Regions from separate parts of the Homo sapiens genome. Here regions 2, 3, 4, 5, 6 and 7 are each linked to region 1. Evidence: promoter capture Hi-C in 16 types of primary human blood cells and fetal thymus (Javierre and others, 2016). All regions are on one chromosome and are shown on one strand. The core of a region is centred on a gene start or on the middle of the fragment in contact, and the rest is flanking DNA. Distances in the headings are between cores, read along the strand shown.

Region 1 (4,003 bases), core at 1,504-4,003:
TCACTTCCTTTAGACCTCTGCTGAGGTCTGAAGAGATCTCGACCCAATGTTTTTCCTTCTAGCCCTCATCATAATTGTCTTTATGTAACAGAGTGTTTATTTAATGTCTGAACTCCCAGAGAGCTGGCGCTGTGTCTCTCTTGTGCTCCTCATGTTGTCAATGCCCAACACAGAGAAGAGCAGGGTCCACAGAACTTCAAGCCTAAGCCAGTTCAAGCCACACTCTGTGAGCACTCACGTTCTGCTGGATTCCCTGTGCCCAAGGCCAGCGGTGAGCATGCCTCCCCTCACCCATGCTGATTAACCAGATAGCCTCCATGCCCACTGACTACTGACCACCAGGACTTACCTAAGCCAGTGGATCTCCTGTGAGGCAGAAAACTCATGGAGTCAGGCCGACTTGGGTTCTAGTTCCCACCTAGTCATGTTATGTGGCTTTGGGGCAAATTGTAGAACTTCTCTGAATCTCTGTTTCCTCATCAGTAAATTGTGGACCATCATTCCTGATTAGAAGATAATTATGAGGATCAGGTGTGACCACAGGTGCACACCTTCAGCACAGGGTCTACGCTAGCTCCGTCCCGCCCACGTAAAGACCTGCCACTAGGTGGCAGTCCATCTCAGCTACCCCACCGCTCCTTACTCCACAGAGGCTGGCTAGGACAAAGGGTCTCAATGTCATGCTGAATTCTGAGCTTCTTAGGGGACGCACTTGAGGAAATCAACGTTAACACACAAGTTTCCACTACAGCAAGACAAAGTCAGAAGCAGCAGCCCCAGGTCACTATCCAGCTGAGTGGGTTGCCTGAGCACACGCTCTTACAAACTCTAGTCTAGTCCTACTATCTCACAATTCCCAGGAAGCCTGGCTCTTTCTCTGGCATCAGCTGGAAGCTCTGTTGGGCTTCTCACCTCTGAAATGCAGTAAGTTGTCCTGCTGTGCCTGGCAGCCGACCCACTGCCTGGCTCAACATGTCAGACAGGCTCCACCGCGACCGTGGGTGTCCTCAATTTTGGCGGTGCTGACAAGGGTAGATAGATTGCAGGGGTGAGTTTCAAGAATGGCTTCAGAAAGACAAAGAGTATGAATTATATTCCATAACCAGAAAAAGGCCTTGTGGCTGGAGAATGGAGAGTGAAGGATCACTTGTGAGAGATGAAACTGGTGAGATGGGCAGGTCATATAGAACCTGCTAGGCCAAGCAGGGAGTGTGGATTTTAGGTGCAATGGGAATTCACGGAGGGTTTTAGCCTGGATGTAGGGGATCATGATTTAATTTCATTTTAAAGATTTAAAGCATGATAAATCCAGGCAAAACCAAACTGATAGATCCAGGCAAAACCAAACAAGGTGAGTAGTCTGGGTGACAGGAGATGGGGCCTTCAGCTTGTGGGCTGAGTGACAAGGTCTTGATGGATTGGAGGTGAGGCAAAGGGAGGAATCAAAGTTAGCTGCAAGGTTTTTGACCTTCCAACTTAGAGAAGTTTAGCGCCGCGTTCTGAGAAAGTGAAGACTGTGGAAGGAATCGTTTGGGGAGGGAAGGCGAGCTGTCTAAGGGGGGGGGATGTGGAACATGCAGTGGGATGCTGGGGCCTGGAACGTAGGGGAGATGCAGGTTTGGAGTCACCGGTGCCTGTGTTGTTGGGCAAAGCCAGGGGAAAGGTCAGGTCGCCTTGGGATCTGGCCTAGCACTGAGTGCAGAGGAAGAGAAGCTTCTGAGATCGAGAGGCAGCGGCTACAGGAGGAGGAAGAAAGCAAGGCGGGGAAAACCAAAGTTCAGGAGAGCATTTGCAGGAGGGCGCTGCGGGGTAGGGTCTGAGTCGGAGCCCCGAATCGGACTCGAGTCCTGTCGCGTGGGGACGGAGCGTGCAGAGGCCCATGCGAGGGACAGACACAAAGGCCCTGGGAGCTGCAGGTCAGACCACTGGACAGCGCGGCCGCGGACCTAACGCCCCTGTAAGGGGTGCTCACGCTTGGGGGGAACTCTCCGAAAGAGAGGACCACTGAAAGCCACCCTGGCAGCAGGGGCGGAACAGACAGACGTGGGTCTGGCCGTCGCCAGAACTGCCTGCGGACCAGCCCCGCGCTGCCGGGGGGGCGGGACATGTCGGCTGTCCATCAGTGCCCGCGACCAATCCGCAGGCAGCCCCGCCCCCGCCCCTCCCGGGAGAGGGCGCGCGGAGGACCCGCCGCCGCCGGTGTGAGGCGGCCCGTCCTGGCTCCCTTGTCCGGGAAGCCCGCCCAGGTAACTGAGTTTGGCCGGGCATTCCCGGAGGACGCGCCATCCCCTCACGTCCCGTCCCGGTCGCTGCATGGGCGGTGTTCGGGACGCGGGGGCTGCGTCTGTGCGGGACCGCGGGGTAGCGGCCGCCCGTGCGAGTACGCCTGACTGACGCGCCGGCCGCCGGGCCTGCGGCCTGTGGGCGGGGCTGCCGTGCGTGACAGGGCCGCTCGTGGCCGCCGGGCTGTGTCCGGGGCCGCGTGAGAAAGCTCTGCGGGACTGAGGGCTGGGTGGGTCGACCGGGAACGGCGCGCGCTCCCGCCGCCATCGCGCCTCCGTCCCCGCCTGCGGCCTGTCTGGGGGTCGCGGGGCGCAGGCGCGGCGGGCCGACGGGCGGGGGTCCTCCCCACGGGTGCGCGGGCGCCTTTGTTCCCGGCGCCGAAGCGGGGTGGGGCCTCAGGGCAGCCCCGCCCCGCCGCGCTGAGGCCCCGCCCCGTGTCCGCCTGCAGGAGCCGCCGCCGGGTCCCGCTCGTCTGCCGCCTCAGCCTCAGCCCCAACCTCAGCCGCCGCCGTTGCGCTTGCTCCCGGGCGGTCCTGGCCTGTGCCGCCGCCGCCCCCAGCGTCGGAGCCATGGCGGGCGCCGCGTCCCCTTGCGCCAACGGCTGCGGGCCCGGCGCGCCCTCGGACGCCGAGGTGCTGCACCTCTGCCGCAGCCTCGAGGTGGGCACCGTCATGACTTTGTTCTACTCCAAGAAGTCGCAGCGACCCGAGCGGAAGACCTTCCAGGTCAAGCTGGAGACGCGCCAGATCACGTGGAGCCGGGGCGCCGACAAGATCGAGGGGGCCAGTAAGTGCGCCCACTTCCTGCCTGGGCCCGCCCCGCGCGGGGGTCGTGGGAGCCCGGCCCGACTGCTTGCACCCCGGCCGGCCGCCCCAGCGACTTGGGCAAACTTTCGGGCCCTCCCAGACTCCCTCCGGGCCCCGCCCCCGCTTCGTCTCGGGTGGTCACTGGGGGCGGGGGGCATCCGGGTCCTCGGTCACCTGACAGGACACCCCCCCTCCCCCAGCTGGGGGGAGTGTTCCAGGCGCTTTGCCCTGAGGCCTAAAAATCCTCGCGGGCTGGAGACCTGCGGTGCAGGCATCGGGCCCCCCAGACCCTGGGAGTGGTGGCGGCGTCGGCGAGGGGAGCTAAGGCAGTGGCCCCCACCCTGCACGGGAACCTGGGGCCTGACCAGACGGTCCCCGCCCACTCTTTATCCAGAAAGAGCAGTCTGTGAAACTCTCCGGGCCCCCAGGCTGGGCTCTTATTTGCAAAGGAATCTTTGGGTTCCCTAAGTAGAACTTAGGCAGATGTTGGGTAGGGCTGGTCTTGGAGCAGAGCTGGGCCTACTCATCTCCCTCTGGGGGAGAGGGAGGAAGGTGGTCTTGTTTGGTTTGGAGAAGCCTGAGAGAAGCCAGTGGCTGGAATTTTTTTTTTTTTTTTTCTGCTACTTTTGTCCCAAAGCTGGGTTTTGGAGGCCTATGTGGGTGGGCAGACACTCAATGCCAGGGCAGGGACTCCCCTTGCCCTGGGAAGCACGTTCCCAGGAGATGGGCCCCATAAAGGCCTGCCCCAGCGCCTTGGAGTCAGGTATTCTTCTCAGGAGTGCAGCTAGTTTGTGAGTCTAGCCCTTTGTCCTCTGTCCGGTGGCTTCAGGGAGCGGGAGCGGCTTCTCTTAGTTTCCTGCCTTTTCGCCTTCCCAGGCCTGAGCTTGGCTGCTTTTGCGCTGGTCTCTAGTGGG
Region 2 (4,003 bases), core at 669-3,168, 240 kb before region 1:
TTTCCCACCCTCTCTTGCAACTAGTGTGGGATCATTAGACTGAGTTGCAGCCTGTGAACTGCAATGGAATTGATGTCCACTTCCCTGACCACTCTCAGGCCTAACCACAGACTTAGAGGTCAGGAAACATTTTCTGTAAAGGACTAGTTGGGCAATATTTCAGTCTTTGCAGTCCGTATGACCTCTGTCACAACTAGTCAACTCTACCACTGTCATATGAAAGCAGCCATAGATAATATGTAAACAGGTGGGTGTGACTGTGTACCAATAAACCTTTATTTATAAAAATAAACTGGAGATTCAATTTGGCTCATGAGTGTAGTTTGCTGATCCCTGCCTTAAAACCTGGCTGGCTTATTTCACAGGATACAGTGGGGAAACCTGAGGGGGCCCTATGGAAAGACAGAGCCACAGAATTAAAGGGCCTGGTTCCCTGAGTCACTGCTATAAAGTTGCCTAACCCGTATTATACTGCCACAGAAGCAAGAAATAACATATTGTGTTAAACCACAGGGATTTGGGGACTGTTTGTCACAGCAGCTGCACTGATTAACCCGACTAACAAAATAGGTTAACTGTTCCTTTTTGACAGCTGTGGGAAATGAGGTTCAGAGGGGGAAAGGATCCATCCAAGTTTACAAAGCAAAGAAAGAGTAGAGCCAGGGCTTAGGACGATCAACTCATCCTGGCATGCCAGCATTTGCCTGGTTTTAGCACTGAAAGCCCACATCCTGGGCAAACAAGGTCACCTAGCTAGTCACCCAGCCAGGACTCAAACACAGGCCTGTCTGGCTCCAAAGCTCGTACTCACAGACCATGAGGAGGGCTGCTTTCTGAAAGGAGGTGGAGTGAGGCTCAGCTTGGCTCAGCATGATTCCTGCTGGGAGGCCCCCCACCCTGGTGTCCGCTCCAGGTGTGCTAGAGCTTGCAGGTGAGCATGGAGCCTGTCATCTTCTCCCTGCAGGCCTCAGGCTTTTTCCCCAAAGGCAGTAAGTCAGGCATGAATTTTAAATATATACCAGCTTGAGTATAGACGTCAGGCCTGACATCTATAAAATGGCACTAAATCCTGCTTTTATGAGCTCTTGCTGCATTCTGCTGAGTGTTTTATCACACTCACTGGAAGTCTACTGAGGGGAGTTAATAACCCAAAAACTCTGGGGCCTGCCTGTCTCTGGATTCAGAAGTGGAACCCCCAGCTGTGGATTTTCGAGATGTTAGCACTTGCACTAAAGATGCCAGCACCTCCAGATACCTGTGCTCTGCCCTGCCTAGGTCCTTCCTGCTGCTCAATTTTAGCCCCAGGCTGGTGACTTAGGTGGTTGGGGAAGGACTCTCTGAGAGGGCAACCTTTGGGCTGAAACCTGAAGGTTGAAAAGAAGATGGTCATGCTAGAAATGAAGCGGGAAAGGCCAGGCACAGTGGCTCATGCCTGTAATCCCAGCACTTTGGGAGGCCACAGCAGAAGGATTACTTGATGCCAGGAGTTTGAGACTAGCCTGGGCAACAAAGTGGGACCCCCATCTCTACAAAAAATCTTTCAAATTAGCTGGGCATGGTGGTGTGTACCTGTAGTCCCAGCTACTCGGGACGCTGAGGTGGGAGGATCACTTGAGTCCAGGAAGTCAAGGCTGCAGTAAGCCTGCGCTCCAGACTGGGCAACAGAGAAGACCCTGTCTCAAAAAGAAAAAGAAATGAAAAGTGTCCCAGAGACAGAACAGCAAAGGCTAAGGTCCTGAGTCCCGTGACACCTAATCCAGACAGAGAAGGCTTTCCAGTAGAGGACTGCAGAGAACCAGGACACATCCCTGAAGAACCACAGCCTATAACAGATGTCCAAAAGGGAGACCTCAGCAGAACAGTCAGAGAAGTGGGAGGGAAGCCCAGAAAGCCAGGAATCATAGGTGCTAAGAGAGGGGAGCATTTCAAGGAGAGAGAGTTTGGTGGCATCAGATGCTATGAAAAACCTAATTTAAAAAGCACAGAAAGAGGTCCCTTGGCTTTGGCAATGCCAATGTCACAAATATTTAAGTGCTTACTGTGTGCTCCAGGGTCCAAGCTCCAGGGAAGCGACGGTCAAATAAAGCAGTAGTTTGGGGGCAGGGAGGGTAGGACAGAAAATCTACAAGTAATTCCAATGACACATGTTCTGTTCTGTAGGATCCCAGAAGTGGGGCAAAGTAACTCTACCAAGGAGTTGAGAAGATTTCTGAAAAGTCAGACATCTGAGTTGGGCTGTGAAGGTTGAATAGTTTACTACTAAGGTGATGAGATAGAGGAAATATCATGGGCAAAAATATCAGAAAGATATGTTTAGGAAACCAAGGAAGTCCCTTAGCCTAGGGGAGATGAGGCTGAGATAATTGGGAGGAGATAAAGGACCTCCAGCCCTGCCAAGAAGTTCGGGTTTATTCTCCAGGCAACAGGGTGGCATGGAGGGAGACGTCAGATTTACACTTTAGAAAATAATTTCTAAAACCCTGCACACTATGGTGTGTGCCTGTAATCCCAACTACTTGGGATGCTAAGGTGGCGGGATCACTTGAGCCCAGGTGTTCAAGTCCAGCCTAGGAGAGCTAGTGAGGCCCTGTCTGTGACAGAGAGAAAAATAAAAGAAAAAAAATAGTTTCTGGCTTTGAGTCCCATCCCCAGCTCTAACACTAAGCGGCAGAGTGACGCTAGACGCATCCCTTCCATCTTCTGGGCCTCAGTTTTACCCACTTTGAAGTGAGAAGATAAGACTATCCGTTCCAGTTCTTATGATCTGAGGGTTCTGTGGTCCTTCCCCAACCACCTGGGCACCCATGTAAGAGTCAGCTGTTCTGAAAGAGCCTTTTGTTTGTCTGCATCTGATACAAATAAATTCATCGCTTAGGTTCCAATTTCAGAGTCATAATTTGCCCAGCACTTTTCAGAAGAGCAAAATGACTCTCAGGGTCAACCATGCCACCAGCGTGTCTAAGAGGCTTTTTCCCAATTCCCTGGTGAGGATGAGAAACAAGGACTCCATCGTGACCCAGGGGAAAGGCTGACATTTGGTGAGATGTCTGTATTTAACTCCCACTGCTTGACATCTGCTTTCAATTAATCTGCCTGTGTTAAGAGAGATGCTGCCCAGAGCATGCGATTCAACCTCAGTTCTGGAGGGGCAGAGAGAAGCAGTCACAGAGAGTGAATGCAGATCCTAGCCACCCACTGCCCCCAACCCACACCCTCAGGGGCTCCCTGAACCCCCAGGACCACCTGGCCTGCAGGCACCTGAGGGCCTACTTCACTCCCACTTCACAATTGACACTTCAGCAATACCAACCGGGACACATTTGAAGGACTAAAAGAAAGTCAAACTGAGGTCACTGGAGACACTGACAAGAGAGGACAGTGGCTTAGTGAGGGAGGCAGGGGCCAGGTCACACAAAGCCTTATAGAGCATGTGAAGGAGTTTCTGTTTTTATCCTGGGTCTGATTAGAAGTGACATTGTTAATTTGCATATTTGAAATATGTCTCCAGGTGCTTCATGGAGAATCGGTTGGACAGAGGAAAGATTGGGAGAGGAGATGGCTTCAAACTGCACTGTCCAACTCAGCAGGCACCAGCCACAGTGAGCACTTGAAAGGTGGCCAGTGCAATTGAGGAAATGAAATTTTTTGCTACAGGCTTCATTTTTTATTTATATTATTTTTGCATGTATGTAAAGAGGCACAAGTGTAATTTTGTTACATACATACATTGCATCATGGTGAAGTCAAGGCTTTTATGGTGTCTGTCACCTGAATAATGTATATTATACCCATTAAGTAATTTCTCATCATCCACCCCCTCCCACCTCCCAACTCCTTTGAATCACCATTGTCTATCATTCCACTCTCTACATCCACGTGTACACATTTAGCTCCCACTTATAAGTGAAAACATGAGGTATTTGACTTTCTGTGTCTGAGTTGTTTCACTTAAGGTAATGACCTCCAGTTCCATCCATGTTGCTGCAAAAGACATTTATTCTTT
Region 3 (4,003 bases), core at 436-2,935, 230 kb after region 1:
GTGCACCACATAGGCACAGAGGGCCCTACAGGAGAAAATGGCACCCCTGGAATATCTGGCTGAGCGAGGCCCACAGAGGCGCCTACCCTCCCACCTCCATCTGTGGGCCTCAGCAGGACTCCAAACTCCCATGTCTCTTCTGTCTGTTCTCTGTGTCCCTGGGAGCCAACGCCCTTGGTCTGGGGTCCAGCCCCGCTGCTGGTCTCTGATTCCAGCCTCCGTGATGGGTGGCCCCTGGGCTAAGCACTATTTGGAACCAGGAGCCTGATGTGGCTGCCCCTCCCTGCGTGGGGAAGAGGCCAGCCCGGATTCTCCCTCAAGTGCCCTGCCACACCCCCCCATCCTTCGCTGATTCCAAACTCCTTATCTTGGCATTTAAGGCTTCCGAGTCCCCACTCAGTGACTCCTTTGAGAGCACCATGTCTTGTCCTTCCTCCCTGCCTGGCTCCCGGGGAAATCCACCTCTCCTCGTAGTTTTGCAGCCCCTGCCTTTGGTCCTGTTCCCTTACTCTCAGAGCAGTTCTTGTACCACCTCCTCCAGGAGGCTCGCTGTGATGTACCCAGGCCCACTGAGTGTCGGTACTCTTCCTCCTACAACAGCTCTCAAATTCAGCTAGAATTCAAGTTCAGCCAGCACCCCAGGCAGAGCCTCCAGCCCACTTAACTGAGGCCAGTTCGCAAGCCACTGCCCACGAAACACCAGAAGCTGAGGCGGGGAAAGCAGGCTCCTTGATGAGCCACAAGGGCTGAGGAGGTGGCTGCCTGGCATAAGCCGACCGCTGTGGACGGCTGTGCCACAGCACAGGCCCGGAGCCAGGAGCCCGCTCTGGCTCTGCAGCCCGGCCACGCTGGGGCTCCCATGGGGTTGCTGGGGCCAGGCTGACTGCGAGAGGGCAGCGGCCGCCCGGATGCGCAGCTCTATCTCCTACCTGGCCGGGCCAGGGGAGAGAAGGGAGGCCCGGGGCGGGGGAGCCCCGCGTGCTCAGCGCGCGGACCGCCTTTCCTCCTCTCCCTCCACCTGGTCCGCTCGCCCGGAGTCTGCACACAGCGCAGCTGGAAAATGTTACTTCGCTGGAAAGGTTTCCGCTGGCACTGCCAGGATCCCAAGCCGCCGCGCCAGGCCCCCTCGGTTCCTTTTTCCTCGCCAGCCCCGCAACCTCCCGGAGCGTAGGGCGCTCGCCTGGGCAGGGGCTCGGCCCCGGGCGCCGCCCCCTCTGTGCAGCGGCCTCGGGGTGCCCGGGGCCTCGACGCCCCCCGCGGGTGCGGGCAGGTGGGAGCGGCGACGCGCGCGGGCCCATCCCTCCCTCTTCCCGCCCGCCGCCCGCCCGCGCTTACTTGTGCGGCCCCGGGCGCAGCCGCGGGCGCCATCCCGTCGTGTAGAGACTGTAGCGGGAGGCACCGGGCGGCGCAGGCCGCGCCAGGAGCGGGGTGCCCCTGGCCTGCGCCCCCGAGAGCAGCGCCGCGACGGCGCACAGCCAGACGAGCAGGCGGCGGCGGCCCATAGCGGCCCCCGCGCCTCTGCCCGGCCCCGCGCGGTGCCCCCCGCCGGGTGTCCGCCTGCAGCGCCGCGCCGCCCCCGCCGCTGGTCGGCCCGGGTCCCGCCCCGAGGGTCCCGGGGTCCCCTTCGGCCCCCGAGCTCGCTGGCCCGGCCGCCTGGCGCTTCGCGGCGGCTGCGTCCCGCGGAGTGGCCGGCGCTGCTAGCGGCTGGGGCCGCGGAGGGGAGGCGGGAGGCGGGCTCTTTGCGGATTAGCATAAACTTGGGGCCGCGCCGCTCGCCGCCGCCAGCCCCTCGCCCCAGCTCCGAGCGGACGGCCGAGGAGCCGCCTGCGAACAGGAGGTTCCAAAGGGAGCAGCCCCAGGTGGCAGGGGCGCAGGCCGCCGCGCCCTGGGAGGCCCCCCGAGCACACCAGCCACTCTGTCGCCTGCGGGCACGGGGCGAGACGCAGAGAAGCGGACCCCTGAGGCCAGCCTGGGCGTGGACTTTCCAGGAGTCGTCCACCCTCAGGATACGCTTGTCTTCAGAGTCCGTGTGAACCCGGGAACTGCTCTCCAGGGCTCTGGAGCCGAGATGGCCGTGACTGGGGGCACAGCAGCACCACCTCCCCCGCCACCTCTTTGGAATAGACCCCAGATCATCCCCGTTTGCTCGCTCTGCCTCCTGGCCCCATCATTGCCCGGGAACCTTAGTTTGATAACTCCGCTGACCTCTCCCCAGGCATCCCACCTCCCCCTTACCCCGCAACCTCTGCCACGTAGCCTGGTGGCCCGGTTGCACCTCTGGTTCTCTGGAGGCGCCTGTGTTGCCTCTCTGTCTTAGGTATGGGTTGCACCGAGCCCGAAAGGCCTATCACCGCCCCAGCCCAGCCAAAAGTGCTGTGCTTTTCGTGCAACTGAAGCTCTAAGCCGGCTGGTCAGAGAAAATCCTCAGGTCTTTCTCACAAGGCACTGCCGCGGTGAAGCCAGGCGTCGTCCACATTTTGCTTGTGAAGTTGACTCTTGGAACCCAAGAGTTGGGTTTTATCGTCGTCCTCATTCAGTATCACCTTGCTAACTCTCTAACCTGCACAGAGTCCTTCTGATTCTGTCATCAGAGCGGTACTTTCCTGGCCTTGTCTCATCCACACCGGTGGCTACAGCCGTCTGTGTCTTTGCCCCAGGAGCTGATAGGTGTACAGAACTCTGGGGCTTGCTTGGAGAGACCTCCCTCCAAATTGACCTTGAGATATGAATTAATGCCTTTTGGATAGGGTGATGGTTATCAAGGATACTGGAAGGGGCAGCTCCGAAACCCACATCTATTTCCTGCCCTTAGCTTTAGTGGCTTTTGGGTTCTGTGGGGCGGACATCTGACCCCAGCTAGGCCCATCCTGCTTTCCCCCAGGCTTTGGAATCAGAACACAGAAGCTGAAGGAATCCAGCTTCCAGGTGTAGGTTGTGTGAGTTTCTCAGGGCTGTGGTAACAGCCACAGACTCAGTGGCTTAACACACAGAAATGTATTCTTGCACATTTCTGGAGGCTAACTCCAAAATCCATGGGCCAGCAGGGCAATGCCCCCTCCAGTGGCTCTGGGGAGAAGCCTTCCTTGCCTCTTCCAGCCACTGGTGGTTCCTGGCAATCTCTGGCGTTCTTTGGTCAAGGATTCTTTGTAGCAGCATCACTCCAGCCTCTACTTTCCCTCCGCATATCCCTCTTCAGGTGACCTTTTTTTCTCTGTGACTGTGATCTGTGTCCTTTCCTCTTCTTTCTGTTTTTGTTTTTTGAGCCAGAGTCTCGCTCTGTCGCCCAGGCTGGAGTGCAGTGGCGCGATCTCGGCTCACTGCAAGCTCTGCCTCCCGGGTTCACGCCATTCTCCTGCCTCAGCCTCCCGAGTGGCTGGGACTACAGGCGCCCGCCATAATGCCCAGCTAATTTTTTTGTATTTTTTTTTTTTTTTTAGTAGAGACGTGGTTTCACCGTGTTAGCCAGGATGGTCTCGATCTCCTGATCTCGTGATCCGTCCGCCTCGGCCTCCCAAAGTGCTAGGATTACAGGCGTGAGCCACCGCGCCCTGCCTTTCTGGTTGTGTTTTTAAATTTGAGACAGGGCTGGGCGCGATGGCTCATGCCTGTAATCCCAGCACTTTGGGAGGCCGAGGTGGGGGGATCACCTGAGGTCAGGAGTTTGAGACCAGCCTGGCCAATATGGTGAAACCCCATCTCTACTAAAAATAAAAAAATTAGCCGGGCGTGGTGGCGGGCGCCTGTAATCCCAGCTACCTGGGAGGCTGAGGCAAGAGAATCACTTGAACCCTGGAGGTGGAGGTTGCAATGAGCCGAGATCATGCCATTGCACTCCAGCCTGGGTGACAAGAGCGAAACTCCATCTCCATAAATAAATAAATAAATAGAGACAAGGTCTAGCTCCATCACCCAGGCTGGAATGCAGCGTCGACCTCCTGAGCTCAAGTGATCCTCCTGCCCCCACCTCCTCTGTAGCTGGGACCACAGTTGTGCACCACCATGC
Region 4 (4,003 bases), core at 879-3,378, 210 kb after region 1:
GGAGGCAGAGATTGCAGTGAGCCAAGATTGTGCCATTGCACTCTAGCCTGGGCGACAAGAGCGAAACTCCGTCTCAAAAAATAAATAAATAAATAAAAATAAATAAATAAATCCATTCCACCTTCACAGGGCTCAGGCAAGCACAGCAGAGATTTTTGTTAGCAGCAAGGTCTAGGGTGTGAATCAAGATTCACACTGAGGCAACTGTGACGTTTCCAGGATCCTAATAGAAAAGTGTAGCCTATGGGAAATAGTATATCTAAGAGGCTAGTAGCTTGGGTTGTAGACTCAGCCTTTTTGGCTTCATAAGCTCACTTGCTGTGAGGCTGCCTCCTAACCAATTACTCAAACCCCCAAAGCCTCAGTTTCCTCATCTGTAAAGTGGAGGTAATGATAGGAGCTACTGCAAGGGGTTGCAGAGATTAAATGAGATAATCTATAGAAAACACTCCACAAAGGGCCAGTACACTAAAATTCCCACCATTGTTTATGCAGCCAATAACCTGGGGGCTGGGGACACAGCGATCACAAGAGAGACCACGTCCCTATTCTTATGGATGTGAGAGACAGAGGGAAGAACTTGGAAACCAGGCAATACACAAGAAGACCGAGACAGTGACAAGTACAATGAGGCTCAGACAGTGGGGCAGTGTGAGTGAGGGAGAGATGGGTAGGGAGCTCAGTGAAGGCCTCTCTGAGGAAGGGGAGATGCAGCAGAGCCCCCCTTCGTGGGGAGCAGCCAGGCACTTGAGGTCCGGAGGGAGGGAACCCCAGCAAGTATGGTGTTTGGGGCGGCAAGGAGCCACTGGAGGACCAGCCAGGAGGCCTGTGGTCGGAAGCATGGGCGTGAAGGCCCATGTCCCTGCCACCGCTTTCCATTTGCAGGTAGACATTGAGCTCAATGGGGAGCCTGTGGACTTGCACATGAAGCTTGGGGACAGCGGGGAGGCCTTCTTTGTTCAGGAGCTGGAGAGCGATGATGTGAGTCTGCCCTCCTAACAGCACCTGCCCCGCCCACCCCTTTCCTGTGCCTCTTCTGGGCAGAGCCTTGGGATTTGTCACCATCCTCGCCCTTCCCCGGGAGCACCCCACCAGCAGAGGTCTGAGGCAGGGGTATCAGTTGGGGCTGGCCTCTGGCACACGTGATATGCTGTGGGGGCCCAGAGGAAGAGGCCAGGGTACCAACTGACTCTATTTACTGGGAAGTTGGGGAAGGTTTCTCAGAAGACTGGACCCCTGAGCTGGGCCCCTGTGGGATGAAAAGGAGGCCTTCCCCAGGCAGCTTGAAGAGGAGGCGGGAGCTGAAGAAAGGGGCTGGGAAGTATAACATCTGGCTTGTCCTGGGTCTGGTGCCAGCTCCGTGTGGCTGGAACCTAGAAGTGTGTAAGTGGTGGGTGTTCGCACAGGGGAGGCAGGGCCCAGCAGAAGCCAGCAGAGGAGTTGAAACAGAACTTGAAAAACTTTGAGTCCCTACTGTAGGCCAGACACTGTGCAACAGACTCAGATGACGGGTGACCCCTGCCTTCAAAGAAAGTTCCAGGCTGTTCTGGGAGCTAGACACATAAACAATGGATGATGAGCCGTTTGGTCATTGCAGTGAGGGATGTTGGGATTGGGAGAGGGATAGTCAAGGCTCCTTCCTGGAGGAGGAGACATATGGCTGAATCTTAAAGCAGAAGTAGATGTCTGCTGTCATAGACTTGGGTAGAAGAGGAGATCAGAGGCCGATGCCAAGATCTCTGCCTGGCCTGCCAGGGTGGCAGGTGGCTCTGTTGGGGACCTCTGAGGCCAGCAGTGGCTACAGGGCCAGGCTGGTGCCTCCACACCTGTTTTCCTGACCCTAAATGAGCTCACTCCAGGGCTGGGACCCAGGCAAGGCTCAAGATGACTGTGTGGTGAGCGCAGCCCCACTAGGGTCAGCCCCCGACCTCAGTTCTTGGTCTGTTCCACAGGAACATGTGCCTCCCGGCCTGTGCACCTCACCCATCCCTTGGGGGGGTCTGTCTGGCTTCCCCTCGGACTCCCAGCTGGGCACTGCCAGTGAGCCTGAGGGCCTCGTCATGGCAGGCACGGCCTCCACTGGGCGGAGGAAGAGGCGTCGCAGGAGGAAACCCAAGCAGAAAGAGGATGCAGTGGCAACTGATTCTAGTCCAGAGGAACTGGAGGCAGGCGCTGAGAGTGAGCTATCCCTGCCGGAAAAGCTGAGGCCAGAGCCCCCAGGGTGTGTAAGGACCAAGGGACTTGAACCCCAGTTTGGGGGTTCAAGTGCTGTTTCCTCTGCTCATGCTGTGTGACTTTGGGCAAGGGCCTTGACCTCTCTGAGCAGTAGTTGCTTCACCTTACCAAGCCCCTGATGTCCAGGCTCTCATGCCTGCCTGGGGCATCCTGCCTGATCAGTGACCATTTCCTTGTGGCCCCTTAGCAGTGTCCAGTTGGAAGAGAAGTCTTCACTGCAGCCCAAAGACATCTACCCCTACTCGGATGGCGAGTGGCCCCCCCAGGCCAGGTAAGAGTCCAGGTGGGCTGCAGGCCAGGACTCCAGATCAAGGTCTGAGGTTTCCATTTGCATTTTTCCTGATGACTAATGACACAGGACCCATTTAATGTGTTTACTAGCCATTCGTATTTTTCCTTTGTAAAGAGTTCAAGTCTTTTATTGATTTTTTTAAATTGCGGTAAAATATACATAACATAAATTTACCATTTTAACTATTTCAAAGTGTATACAGTTCAGTGGCATTAAGTACATTCAGTGTTGAATGACCATCACCACTATCTAGTTCCAGAACATCCCATCCCCCAAATGGAAACCCTATGCCCATTAGGCAATCCAGCTACAACTTTGCCATCTTCTTTTTTTTTCCTTCCTTCCCTTCCTTCCTTCCTTCCTCCCTCCCATCCTTCTTCTTACTGGATTGTCTTCTTCTTGTTGATTAGTATAAGTTATTCATATATTTGTATACTCTTTAGATCTTTACATATTCCTTATATATTATGGATTCAACACAGGCATAAATATAGGTTGCACATATTTTTTTCCCTGGCTGGGGTGGGCAGCAGCGGGGATGGGTAGGCAGGCTCAAGGCCTCTCAATATGTCTCCTGCAGCCTCTCAGCAGGTGAGCTAACATCCCCTAAGAGCGACTCGGAGCTGGAGGTGCGGACCCCGGAGCCCAGTCCCCTAAGAGCCGAGTCCCACATGCAGTGGGCCTGGGGGAGGCTGCCTAAGGTGAGTCCCTCTGTATCAACCCCAGGCCCGGCCTTTCAGGGGCTCTGTGGCCCCCATGGGTCAGGGTTGGAGGGACTGAAACTCGGGCCACTGCCCCAAAAGCTTTGTGGGGCATGGGCCTTACCCTGGCCCACATCTTCCTCCATTTGTTCCACTAAAGGTGGCCAGAGCTGAGCGGCCCGAGTCCTCAGTGGTCCTTGAAGGCAGAGCTGGGGCAACCTCTCCTCCTCGGGGAGGACCCAGCACTCCCTCTACCTCTGTGGCTGGCGGCGTGGACCCTTTGGGACTCCCAATCCAGCAAACAGAGGCTGGTGCCGACCTTCAGCCTGACACAGAGGATCCCACTCTAGTGGGTCCCCCTCTCCACACCCCAGAGACAGAGGAAAGCAAGACTCAGAGCTCTGGGGACATGGGCCTCCCTCCTGCCTCCAAGTCATGGAGCTGGGCCACTCTGGAGGTTCCAGTTCCCACCGGGCAGCCAGAGAGGGTCTCCAGGGGGAAAGGTGAGTGACGCTGGGTCTCTCCCACTGCCTCCCTGGCCTCGCTCTGTCCCCTGGGTGGGTGCTGGGACTTCAAGTACATTTTGAGCACCTGCTGTGTGCTAGGTGCTGTTCTTGGCACCAGCCTCATGAAGCTCACAGTGCAGTGTGGGAGACAGATGCTGCATGTGTGGAAGGGCGTGCCACAGGCATAGTCATTGGTTGGAATGGGAGCTGTTTAAACCAGGTGGTCAGAGAAGGCCCCTCCGAGAAGGTGATGTTGGAGCTAAGACATG
Region 5 (4,003 bases), core at 877-3,376, 200 kb before region 1:
CAGTTTTGCAGGGGGACCTGGGAACTCTCAGACTGGGGGCATTGATTCCAGGAGCCTGGATGCAATCCACTGACCTACAGACGGACCACAGGATGTGCTGCTCCCTGGTGAGTGGGCTTGAGGGTATGCTGGCCCCTTACATGACCCTTGGGTCAGGATACGACCCTCAGCTTGTGCTGGACTTTGAACTACCAAATCCTATGGGTCTTCCAGATGATAAAGCCTCATTTAAACAGAATCTTTCCAACATCCCAATGATTGGAAGATGATGATTCTCATTTTACAGAGATAGAAAAGAGGGAGGGTGAAAGACGGAAACATTCTTTTTTTTTTTTTTTTTTTTTTTTTTGAGATAGAGTCTCACTTTATTACCCAGGCTGGAGTGCAATGGCATGCTTAAGAATCACTTCAGCCTCAATGTCCTGGGTTCAAATGACCCTCCCACCTCAGCCTCCTGAGTAGCTAGGACTACAGGCATGCACCACCAGGTCTGGCTAATATTGTGTTTTTTGTAGAGATGGGGTTTCACCATTTTGCCCAGCTGGTCTCGAACCCCTGAGCTAAAGCAATCCACCCATCTTGGCCTCCCAAAGTGCTGGGATTACAGGCATGCACTACCATGCCCGGCCTCATTCATTCCTTTATTTATCCAACCAATTACTTCAATATTGATAATCTAATATATTCCAGGTACAGTGCATACACTCAGTACAGTACACTGAGGCATAAAGAAGTAAACAGGGTAGGCAATGCCCTGCTCTCATGGAGCAGGGAGATAAACAATTAAATAATCAAATAAGAAATATGTTATTCATTATTTAATGTGACTGTGCAAAGGATATGGGGTAGGTTGAATGACTGGCTCCAATTCTCCACCCCTCTATGTATCAAGCTTTTTCAATATAACATTGCAATCCCTCCCATCCATGGACTTTGGCAAATTTGGGCATTGTTTTGGCCCATGAGATGTGAGTAGTCACGACATAAGCAAGAATCTTACATGAGCTTGTACAAGGAGGCTTACCCTCTTACACTTTAGCCATAGCCATGAGAACATACCCTGCCTAGCCTGCTGATCCCAGGAGATGAACAAGAAGTGGATGAGAGCTGAGCCACCAACCCATGAATGAAATAAATACTTACTATTGAATGTCACTGAGATGCTGTGCTATTTTTGCTGTTGTTACACAGCAGTAGCTTAACAATGTGGAGCATGATTAGAGATAATGAGACAGGAAGGTAGGCAATAGAGAAAGACTGAATTTAGATGGAGGATAAGAGATGAGTCAGTTTCGCTGAAAAAGAAATATTGAAACAGAAATATGAGTAACTCATAGATACACAAGAATGCAAAAGTGGGGAGAAGAGCTTCACAGGCAGAGGGAATAGCATGTGCAAAGGCCCTGAGGTAAGAAGGAGCAGGATGCATTCCAAAAATTCAAAAAAGGACAGGGAGCAAGGAGGCCAGGGAGCAAGGGAGAATGTGGTAGCAGATGATGAGATCAGAAAGGAAGTTGAGTAAAGGACCATGCAGACATATAGCATGACATAAAGTTTGCATTTTATCTAAGGGCAGTGGGAAGCTAATGAAGGGTGTTGAGCATACCAGCACCTGATAAAAATTCCTTCCACTGCTGAGTGAACAATGGATTAGGGGTAAGACAAGAGTGGGGAAAGGGATCCAGGGAGGAGGCTGCTGCAGCCACCAAAGTGGCAGGTGTTGGCCCAGGATTGGCAGGGTACTGTAGAGATAGAGAAAAGGGGACAAAGGCAGGGTGTGGTGGCTCACACCTGTAATCCCAACATTTTGGGAGGCCAAGATGGGAGGATTTATTGAGGCCAGGATTTCAAGACCAACCTGGCCAACATAGCAAGACCCTGTCTCTATAAAAGAGAGAGAGAGAAAAGGGAAAAAATCTGAAAGGTACTTTGAAGGTAAAGGTAACAGGACTTTTTCCAAAAATAGGCCTACATACACATGTCAGTTGACTTTTGAAAAACGTGCCAAGTCAATTAGATGGAGAAAGAAGGCAGAAAAGAGAGAAAAATCAATCCATAGTTTGTACCATAATTAAAAATTAATTCAAGCCCAGGCTTGGTGGCCCACACCTGTAATCCCAGCACTTTGGGAGGCCGAGGTAGGCGGATCACCTGAGGTCAGGAGTTCAACGCCAGCCTGACCAATGTGATGAAATCCCATCTCTACTAAAAAAAAAAAAAAAAAAAAAAAATACAAAATTTCGCCAGGCATGATGGCACACGCCTATAATCCCAACTACTGGAGACGCTGAGACACGAGAATCACTTGAACCCTGGAGGTGGAGGTTGCAGTGAGCCAAGATCACGCCACTGCTCTCCAGACTGGGTGACAGAGCAAGATTCCATCCCCCAAATATATAAATAAATAAATAACTCAAAGTTGAGCATAAAGTTGACTTCATTGATATTGTTTAAATTTCTACTTCAGAAAACACTATCAAGAAAATGAGAAGAATTAGAGTGAAAGCAAAAAGACTTCTCTACAGAATGAAAGAAAATATTTGCAAATCATGCATCTCATAAGGTTCTAATGTCCAGAATATATCAATAATTCTTACAACTCAATAATAGAAAGACAAACAACCCAATTTAAAAATAGGCAAAAGATTTGAATAGATATTCTTCAAAGAAGATATACAAATACCCAAGAAGCCCATGAAAGCATGCTCAACATCATTAGTCATTAGGGAAATGTAAATCAAAACCACAACAAGATACCATTTCACACTCATCAGGATAGCTATCATCGAAAAGATGAACAATAACAAGTGTTGGTCAGGATGTGCAGAAATTGGGACCCTCATACATTACTGGTGAAGCTGCTTTGGAAAGCAGTTTGGCAGTTCCTCAAAAAGTTAAACATTGAGTTACCATGTGACCCAGCAATTCTATTCCTTGGTATATACACAAAAGGAAAAAAAAAAGTTCTCACAAAACTTATATGCAAATGTCTGTAGCAGCAATTATTCCTAATAGCCAAAAAAAATTGAAACAACCAAAATGCCAACCAATTGATGAATGGATAAACAAAATGTGATTTATCCATACAATATTCCTGAATTTAATATTCAGCAGTAAAAAATAATGAAGTATTGACACATGCTACCACGTGGGTGAAACTTTAAAACATCATGCTAAGTGAAAGAAGCCAGTCACAAAGGATGACATGTTGTATGACTCCATTTCTATGAAATATCAAGAATGGTTAAATCTATAGAGATACAAAGTAGATTAATGTCTTCCAGGGGTTGGAAGAAGAGGGGAATGGGAAGTGCTTGCTAATGGGAAGGGAGTTTCTTTGTATTTTTTATTATCTCATAGTAAAGCTTTAATAAACATCAGTTTCCATCCTCCCAGTTCTAGCCAAATTACTTTAATAAAATATATCTGTATATACAGTTTTTTCAGCTTTTATTTTGGATTCAAATTTGGTACATGTTCAGGTTTGTTACATGGGTATATTGCATGATGCTGAGGTTTGGGATATGGATGATCCCATCACCCAGAAAGTGAGAGGTAGAGAACCAATAGGTAGTTTTTCAGGCCACATCTCCTCTCTACTCGAGTGGTCCCCAGTGTCTATTGCTTGTGATGGCATTTCATCGGGGGCGATGAGAATGTTCTGGAATTAGAGAGTGATGATTGTACAACTGCATGAATATACCAAAAACCACTAAATGGTATGCTTTAAATGGGTGAACTGTATGGTACATAAATGTATGGTACATAAATTTTATCTCAATGAAGCTGTTAACCAAAAATAAAAGAGCATAGACCTAATGTAAAGCCTAAAACTATAACTCTTCAGAAGAAATATAGGAGAAAATCCTTGTAAGTTTGAGTGAGGCAAAGATTTCTTGTATATGACATCGAATAAGAAAAACAAGTGATAAGTTGGACCTCATTAAAATTAAGAACTATTATTCTTTCAAAGAAGACACTGTTAAGAGAATGAAAAGGAAAG
Region 6 (4,003 bases), core at 712-3,211, 190 kb after region 1:
TGGCAGCCTTCTAAGTCCCTAACTACATGGAGAAACTGCCTTGGGTCAGTGTTTTAAGCTGCAAGGAATGTTGTGACTCAGCTAGTCGTTCAGGGACACCTCGATGAACAAGGCCACGGGAAGGAAGTCATTACACAGAGAGCTGGACTGTAAAAACCAAAAATACTCTACACACCAAACTCTAGAGCAGTGCAGCAGTACATCCCATGACTCAACGGGACAGCTTCTGCCACGTGGCACACAGCTCCGGATATGTGGTGCGCAGCCCTCACTCGCGGCTCTGCTGCCGCTCTGAGCTGCTTGGAAAGTTGATGGGGTGGGGAAATCTGTGACTGTATTCTCTCTCCACCCCCTCCACTCTGACCATTGCTCCTCTCATCAGCTCCCCCTCTTCCTACTCCTTCTTTAACCCTCTTGCCCTGCAAAAACAAAAACAGCTGGAATTTAGTATTTCACACATGCTGGCAATTTAGTGGGGACACATGGAGGTCAAAACGCTGGCACTCTAGGAAGACCCTACTGATCAGGCAGACACTGGGCAACAGGTCATATCACCTGGGACAGGGTCAAGAGTACTGGGCAAAGAGGCAGCCCCAAGGAACAGAGACTTCAAGGTACAGGCAAAACCTTTAAAGATGTGGACATTCACTCACTAATCTTTATCAGAGACCTACTATGTGCCAGATGCTTTTTGTTTGTTTCTTTGAGACGGAGTCTCATTCACTGGAGTGCAGTAGCACCATCTCGGCACACTGCAACCTCCACCTCCAGTTCAAGCAATTCTCCTGCCTCAGCCTCCCCATGAGCTGGGATTAGAGGCATGCACCACCACACTTGGCTAATTTTTATATTTTTGGTACAGACAGGGTTTCACCATCTTGGCCTGGCTGGTCTTGAACTCCTAGCCTCAAGTGATCCACCCGTGTTGGCCTCCCAAACTGTTGGGATTACAGGCGTGAGCCACCGTGCCCGGCCCCAGACTGTTCTTAGGAACTGTCAGTGAAGACAGATCAGATGTCTTGTCCTCACGGGGCCTGCATTCTTTTGGAGGGAGACACACACATACCAGACATCCTCAAGAAGTGAATTAGCACTCAAGGAAGTTGTTAGGGCTACTGGAAAAGATTAGAGCACAGAGAGGTGTCTGGGCATGGTCAGGGTAGACTTCATGGACATTGGTGTGGTCTTGAGGTTAGTGAGGGAGCCAGCCAGGTAGGCATCTAGGGAAAGAAACTTCTGGGCAGAGGAAACAGCCAGTGTGCTTTTTTTTTTTTTTTTTTTTTTTAAAGAGAGAGTCTTACGCTGTCACTCAGGCTGGTGTGCAGTGGTGTAATCACAGCTCTGCAACCTTGAAATCCTGGGCTCAAGCGATCCTCCCATCTCAGCCTCCCAAAGTGTTGGGATTAAAGACATGAACCACTGCATCTGACCAAGTATACTTTTAAGTGTACTCAATAATTGGTTTCCTTTTCCTCATCTATAACAACAGTTTCTACCTTTTGTCCAGCTCCTGAGAGCCTTGAGTTCTAATCACAACAGCCCCTCACTCCCAGTGGCAGCCCTTCCATGCAGCCTCCCCTCTCTAGCCCCACTCTGCCTGTTAGCATCTGCAGCCATGGTGCAGGCCTAGTACATGGATGAGTTCCCAGACTGCTGGAGGCAGCCCCACCACCCCGAGCCCCTGGCCACCCAGTGGGCCAGAAACAGCCATGCTGGCTCAGGGTGCACTACTAAAGCTGGACACTGACAAATGAGAGAATGATCCAGAATTAGAAAAGACTCAAAGAGAGAGAAGCTACTCCTGGATAGACATAATAACCATATGTAAAGATAAATTACCAAATTATGAAGAAAAGATTAAGGTGTTTTATGGGGAGCATTTACACTTGGATGATCGGATCTGTTACATCCCGGGTGGCAGTGGATACTTTTGATATGACAGATAAAGAAGACAAGTGAATCTACATCTTCATGGAGAAAGGAGACATAACTCTCCCCACAGGAATTCGTCACCACCTCACTCTGGATGAAAAGAAGTACGTGAAGGCCATATGGCCATTCAGGGAGACCCAGTGTGGACAGCATACAATGGGCCAGCTGACCATTTCAATGTCCAGGGACAATACATGAAATTTCTGGCACAGACAGCATAGCAGGGCTCCCTGAGAACATGTACTTTGTGAAGGTCCTAAACGTAACTGAGCACAAAATCATTTTTCTCTTTGCTTTTATACGGTAAACTTGTCTTTCCTTTGCAAGATTATTTGATCAGAATGTTTTTTATCTTATTTTTATTTTTTGAGACAGAGTCTCACTCTGCTGCCCAGGCTGGAGTGCAGTGGCATGATTCCAGCTCGCTGCAATCTCCACCTCCCAGGCTCAAGTGGTTCTCATGCCTCAGCCTCCTGAGTAGCTTGTATACAGGTGCACATCATCACACCCGGCTAATAGAAACAGGGTTTCAACATGTTGGCCAGGCTGGTCTCAAACACCTGGCCTCAAGTGATCTGCCTGACTCAGCCTCTCAAAGTTTTGGGATTACAGGCATGAGCCACCGTGCCTGGCTCAGAATATTTTTTAATGAAAGGAGCAATAAAACTGATTTTTACATGGAAGCAACTGTGGAAATGAAGACAAGTCACCTTCGTTTTGTCTAATGCAATCAAGACTAGTGGTTCAGTAGCCCTGTGTTAGTACATGCACTCATCTTTAGTCCAAATGAGAGTTTCATCTCCCAAAATGTATCTCCTTAGATGTTCTATCTGGACATGATATTGTGCCTGCCTTGTAACAAGGTGCAATGGTAGATAACCAGATAGAAGACACTTTTTTTCTCCCAAAATTATACACTGAGGTGGGGAATTATACACATAGAGGGAAGAGCTCTTATGTTAGGCGACACATTCTGAGTTGCTTATGCCACTTTCTTGTTCAAAATAAAGTCATTGCTGGGCGCGGTGGCTCACGCCTGTAGTCCCAGCACTTTGGGAGGTCGAGGCGGGCAGATCACGAAGTCAGGAGATTGAGACCATCCTGGCTAACACGGTGAAACTCCGTCTCTACTAAAAATACAAAAAATTAGCCGGGCTTGGTGGTGGGCGCCTGTAGTCCCAGCTACTCGGGAGGCTGGGGCAGGAGAATGGAGTGAACCTGGGAGGTGGAGCTTGCGGTGAGCCGAGATTGCTCTACTGCACTCTATCTAGCCTGGGCTACAGAGCAAGACTCCATCTCAAACAAAACAAAACAAAACAAAATAAAGTGACTGCCTCAATTTTATGCTCATGGCTTGGCATTATCTTATATTCAAGTATATATGGTATTTTGCCTAGCTTGTTAAAATCACCAGTTTAGATTCTTTGTGTGACTGTATATGTATGTGATTAATGTGTATATTATCTGTGTTGGTATTTTTTTCAGTGCGAGTTGTCTAGGTTCTTTCACAATCAAGATTTTAACAGAATTAGTATTTTAAAATTTATCAAGAGAATTAGTACGTTATTTTTCTACTCAATTCTAAGACTCTACTCAATTCTAAGACACAATTATGCCTAGTTCGTTATAATCATAGAAAAACCCCAAATAAATTTCATGTTTTAGAAGGTCAGGTTGTTTTCTAAGTATTTTTCTAAAACTGGATGAAAATTTTTCATGTTAAAATTAATTTTTCATTACTTTCACACTGGTCTTGGGGGTCTGTTTCTCACTGCACAGAGGAAAGTCGATCCTTAAATGTTATTATCATGGTGCCTGTGTACATTTTAATCCTGAAATTATTAATTTTAGGATTAAGGCCAGGTGCAGTGGCTCACATCTGTAATCCCAGCACTTTGGGAGGCTGGGGCGGGTGGATCACATGAGGCCAGGAGTTTGAGACCAGCCTGGCCAACATGGTGAAACCCTGTCTCCACTAAAAACACAAAAAATTAGCCAGGCATGTGGCACACGCTTGTAATCCCAGCTACTCAGGAGGCTGAGGCAGGAGAATCACTTCAACCCAGGAGGC
Region 7 (4,003 bases), core at 560-3,059, 180 kb before region 1:
GATGTCACTATGAGAAGTTCCAGTGTCCATAACCATAGCCCAGTCTCACTCTGCACGCTGCTCTCCCCCTGCTCAACCCATGGGCGTCCCACTAGGGGCTCTGGGAAGATGTGACTTCTCGGAGCTGGTGGGCAAATCACACAGCCTTGCTGAGCCTTATCTGCAAAACAGAGGCTCCCAGCCTGTCCCAGTTCTTCCCCTTCATGCTGCACAGGGCTGATGGGGATGGACAAGTCTGTCCCTTGCCAGCTACATGGTGGAGGGCCTATGGCAAGGGCTGCCATTGGGGCTGGCAAGACTGGGCCCCCATCCACCCTAGGAAGGTTGAGTTTCCTTTAGTCCTCTTGAAGACATAGTAACTATAACTCAAAACTTTTGTTTGTATCATTTTCCTTGAAACCTTGGCTTTGAGCTAGGAAAGGACAGAGGGTCAGCTGGCACAGCCTTTGTGGAAAAGCGCAGTGTATCTATCAAAGTTAAAAATAAGTGGATGTTGTGGCCTGTAATCCCAGCACTTTGGGAGGCTGAGGCGGGCGGACCACCTGAGGTCAGGAGTTTGAGACCAGCCTGACCAACATGGCGAAAACCCGTCTCTACCAAAAATACAAAAAAATTAGCCAGGCGTCTTGGCGCGCGCCTATAATCCCAGCTACTCGGGAGGCTGAGGCAGGATAATCGCTTGAACCTGGGAGGCAGAGGTTACAGTGAGCCAAGATTGTGCCACTGCGCTCCAGCCTGGGCAACAGAACAGGACTCCATCTCAAAATAATAACAATAATAAATAAGTGCCTGTTGTATTTAAAATAGAAGCACTATATGAGGACTTAGTAAATCAATCAACCAATAACTACCCCTTTGACATAGCAATCCCACTCCCAAGCATCCAAACCAGGGAATAACAAGGATGTTTCTATTAATACCGCCAAGTCACAAACAACCTGAAATCAATCTAAAGGGGATGAGATGGATGGACTGTGATGTAGTCAAAAGAAGACACAGAAGTCATCAGAATGAGAGAAAGATATTGCCTAACCTGCAAAGATTTCCAAGATATATTATTATTATTAATCATTATTATTATTAGAAAAAAGCAAGTTGAGAACGTTCCAGACCAGGATTCCTCAACCTTGGCACTACTGACATTTTGGGCCGGATCATTCTTCGTGTTGGGGGCTGTCCGGGGCAAGGCAGGCTGTTTAGCAACACTCCTTTAGCACTCTACACACCAGATGCCAGGAGCACCTCCCTCCCCAGCCATGATGATCAAAAATGTCTTCAGATGGTGTCAAATGTCTCCTGGGGAGTAAAATTCCCTCCCCATCCCGCTTTCCCACCCCCCACAGTGAGAACTGGTCTAGACAGCATTGTCAGGAATGTTTACATGAACCAAAGTAAACACCTAACTAGAACTTCTATAGGAACTTAGGTAAATGTATGAATGCATAGCAGAAAGTCTGAAGGGAGTCTCCAAACTGGGAGCTGGGGTTGTCTCTGAGGAGGGAATTGGGAATTTGGGTGGGGGGGAAGAGAGGGATCTGGGGAGACCTTTGCTTTTGTTGTATGATCTGCATGTTTGACCATGAGAATGCATGCATCTGTTCAGTACTTTTTTGTTCTTTGTTTGTTTTCTTTGAGAAGGAGTCTCACTCTGTCGCTCAGGCTGGAGTGCAGTGGCGCCATCTCGGTTCACTACAACCTCCACCTCCCGGGTTCAAGGAATTCTCCTGCCTCAGCCTCCCAAGTAGCTGAGACTACAGGTGCCCACCACCACGCCCAGCTAATTTTTGTATTTCTAGTAGAGATGAGGTTTCGCCATGTTGGCCAGGCTGGTCTCAAACTCCCGATCTCAGGTGACCCACCAGCCTCAGCCTCCCAAAGTGCTGGGATTACAGGCCTGTGCCACTGCACCCAGCCATCTGTTCAGTACTTTCATTATAAGAGAGAAAGGAGGAGAGGGAAGGGAAAGGGAGGGAAGGGGAGGGGAAGGGAATCAATGGGAAAGGAGGGTCAAGAAGGAGAAGGAGAGAAGGAAGGAAGGGAGGGAGGAAGAGAGGAAGGAAGGAAGGAAAGAAGGAGGGAAGGAAGGAAGGAAAGAAGGAGGGAAGGAAGGAAGGAGGAGGGAAGGAAGGAAGGAAGGAAAGAAGGAAGGAAGGAAGGAAAGAGGGAAGAAAGGAAGGAAGGAAAGAAAGAAGGGAGGAAGGGAGGGAGGGAGGGAGGGAATGAGTGGCAGAAGCCAAGTCTGCAGTTGGGAAATCATGGGACGTGCTGGCTTTTCCTCTCTGATCCTCAGTGTCCTCAAAGAGAAAGGCACAGCATAAACAGGTCTCTAAAGACCCCTCCTGCCCCGTCCACTGTTGAAGAGAGCCCCAAGGTGACCTGGCCCCCTCCCTCCCGGCTGTCCCTCCCACACAACCCAGTTGTTGCACAAAGAAAAGAAGTGCTTGGGGCTTCTCCTCCCTCTCAGCATCTCTGATTATGCCTCCCTGCAGGAGGAGGGGAGGTTGGGGCCTGGTCAGCAGCCCAGCTCCACACCGAGGACTTGAGGACTCGCTGGAGCTTGATTAAATAATTACACAGAATCTACTGAGTAATCATGCCCGTCTCAAGAAGCAAGGAGCACCTTCAGAGGGAGGTCCCATTAGTGATTTGGGGGCGTGTGAGTGTATTTGTCTACTGCCTATGATAAAATTATCATCAGAAGGCCTCATTTACAAAATGCATCCCTTTCCCCCATCTCCTTCCATCACCTCCCAAACCCAGAGATGTGTATAATGTAATCCCCATTCCACGGCAGAGGACAGGGACTCACGAGCTTTGGGGCTGGCTCAAGGTCCCAGCAGCAGGGGCTGGTGGCAAAGGTGGTCAAATACCAGAAAGTGCACACAGAGTGGGGACAAGGCTCAGGACTGAAACATTTTAGAAGAGGTTTTGTTTGTTTTTTATTGTTTTGTTTTGTTTTCTCGCTAGGATTATTTCTCTCCTTTCAGTTTTTGAAAACAAATCTAAAATCAGCCATGGGAGCCTCCCTAGGTCTTGCTGCCAAGAAAACAGCCGAGCATGGAGGGTGAGGGCTGGGACTCACTGCGGCCGCCCTCATTTCCGATTTACCCAGGCCAAAGGGGACTGCCAGGTGGAGAGGGGGAGCCCAGGCCATCCTGGGGCTCTGTTCTCAGGCCTAGGGGCCAGGATCTTCTGTAAGCCACCCACCCCCCAGCTCCAGGATAAGGACACCCCTTCCAGCCAAGCGCCTGGTTTAATTGGGAACGGAAATAAACGGCTTACAAGAGGCTACACCAGGGCTCTCTGTGGCCCACAGGGCCTGGTCCTGAGATTCCTGCTGCCTGCATGGCTTGGCCAGCTACCCACGCCAGGCCCCGTTGACTCATTTACACTGGAGCAGTCCAAATTCATCAATAATGATTTGTCTCTCTTCAAGAAGAGGCTCGCAATCAAAAGGCCATTAAAATTAAGTACTGGAGGAGCGGGGGCCAGGGAAGGGGGAGGGGGAAGAAAAGGGGGAGGGGTGGGGCCAGGCGGAGCTGAGTGTGAATCTCCACTGGATGTGGACACTTTCTTGTTGCGGGACCTTGGATGGGTCACGTCTCGTCCTGGTTTCCTCTTCTCTGAAACAGAAGGGCAGATATGGCTACAGTATCAGTGACACTGTGTATGGAAACACCCAGCAGGAAGAAGCACGAAGTGACCCTGCTATGAGGCTTCCAGCATTGGGACACATGGGGAAGGTGATGGATACTGAGCAGGGGTAATGCCAGCCTGCTAGGTCAGATCCCAGGGCAGCTACCCCTCACTGCCCAGCTGTCCTAACTCCAGCCCCTGAGTAACTACCCATTGCCACCTCAACTGGGCTCAACACCCCAGGGCAGGGCCACAGCTCGGCCCTGCTCTAATCTCTGGGCAGGAGCAGCAGAAGCATCAGGACACCCAGGACAGCCCTAGACCTTGGAAGAGGCTGGACCAGACAGGGCTCCCCAGCCCTCAGCAG

Evidence for each region. The method cuts DNA at HindIII sites, captures the fragments that hold promoters and counts their contacts. A CHiCAGO score of 5 or more calls a contact.
Region 2: a contact is called between a fragment that was not itself captured here and the fragment with the promoter of PLCG1 in region 1, in 1 of 17 cell types (fetal thymus). The highest score is 5.2, in fetal thymus.
Region 3: the fragment with the promoter of EMILIN3 here is called in contact with the fragment with the promoter of PLCG1 in region 1 in 7 of 17 cell types (non-activated CD4 T cells, activated CD4 T cells, naive CD4 T cells and 4 more); the score reaches 5.9 in non-activated CD4 T cells.
Region 4: a fragment that was not itself captured here is called in contact with the fragment with the promoter of PLCG1 in region 1 in 8 of 17 cell types (naive CD4 T cells, non-activated CD4 T cells, total CD4 T cells and 5 more); the score reaches 11.4 in naive CD4 T cells.
Region 5: a fragment that was not itself captured here is called in contact with the fragment with the promoter of PLCG1 in region 1 in 1 of 17 cell types (fetal thymus); the score reaches 5.5 in fetal thymus.
Region 6: a fragment that was not itself captured here is called in contact with the fragment with the promoter of PLCG1 in region 1 in 12 of 17 cell types (naive CD4 T cells, total CD4 T cells, activated CD4 T cells and 9 more); the score reaches 26.6 in naive CD4 T cells.
Region 7: a contact is called between a fragment that was not itself captured here and the fragment with the promoter of PLCG1 in region 1, in 5 of 17 cell types (activated CD4 T cells, fetal thymus, total CD4 T cells and 2 more). The highest score is 12.2, in activated CD4 T cells.

What each region holds. Positions count from the first base shown.
Region 1 is chr20:41,134,790-41,138,792 of GRCh38, forward strand. It overlaps PLCG1 (phospholipase C gamma 1), which reads left to right and starts at 2,754. Exons shown (of 32, transcript NM_002660.3): 1 at 2,754-3,069. The coding sequence starts at 2,853. It overlaps LOC124904903 (translation initiation factor IF-2-like), which reads right to left and starts at 2,724. Exons shown (of 2, transcript XM_047440629.1): 1 at 913-2,724; 2 at 1-503. The coding sequence starts at 2,550. The coding sequence ends at 1,969. PLCG1-AS1 (PLCG1 antisense RNA 1) reads right to left here and starts at 3,211. Exons shown (of 7, transcript NR_109889.1): 1 at 2,925-3,211; 2 at 913-1,022; 3 at 350-503. RefSeq lists enhancers at 1,269-2,053, 2,838-3,622, 3,544-3,643, 3,792-3,871 and silencers at 2,024-3,013, 3,134-3,393. The HindIII fragment of the contact is 8,103 bases long and covers 1,712-4,003 here.
Region 2 is chr20:40,894,294-40,898,296 of GRCh38, forward strand. No RefSeq gene overlaps it. Among named protein-coding and RNA genes, the nearest start is that of TOP1, 130 kb to the right of the region's middle. RefSeq lists a silencer at 3,126-3,299. The HindIII fragment of the contact is 4,981 bases long and covers 1-4,003 here.
Region 3 is chr20:41,365,133-41,369,135 of GRCh38, forward strand. EMILIN3 (elastin microfibril interfacer 3) reads right to left here and starts at 1,686. Exons shown (of 4, transcript NM_052846.2): 1 at 1,336-1,686; 2 at 1-25. The coding sequence starts at 1,502. RefSeq lists an enhancer at 423-924. The HindIII fragment of the contact is 20,041 bases long and covers 1-4,003 here.
Region 4 is chr20:41,346,667-41,350,669 of GRCh38, forward strand. LPIN3 (lipin 3) reads left to right here. Exons shown (of 20, transcript NM_022896.3): 3 at 886-981; 4 at 1,953-2,221; 5 at 2,426-2,506; 6 at 3,108-3,228; 7 at 3,389-3,731. Among named protein-coding and RNA genes, the nearest start is that of LPIN3, 7.8 kb to the left of the region's middle. RefSeq lists an enhancer at 369-892. The HindIII fragment of the contact is 2,400 bases long and covers 929-3,328 here.
Region 5 is chr20:40,932,720-40,936,722 of GRCh38, forward strand. No RefSeq gene overlaps it. Among named protein-coding and RNA genes, the nearest start is that of TOP1, 94 kb to the right of the region's middle. The HindIII fragment of the contact is 2,473 bases long and covers 891-3,363 here.
Region 6 is chr20:41,329,508-41,333,510 of GRCh38, forward strand. It overlaps the pseudogene ADI1P1. Among named protein-coding and RNA genes, the nearest start is that of LPIN3, 9.3 kb to the right of the region's middle. RefSeq lists an enhancer at 338-387. The HindIII fragment of the contact is 6,350 bases long and covers 1-4,003 here.
Region 7 is chr20:40,957,475-40,961,477 of GRCh38, forward strand. No RefSeq gene overlaps it. Among named protein-coding and RNA genes, the nearest start is that of TOP1, 69 kb to the right of the region's middle. RefSeq lists an enhancer at 3,462-4,003. The HindIII fragment of the contact is 7,671 bases long and covers 1-4,003 here.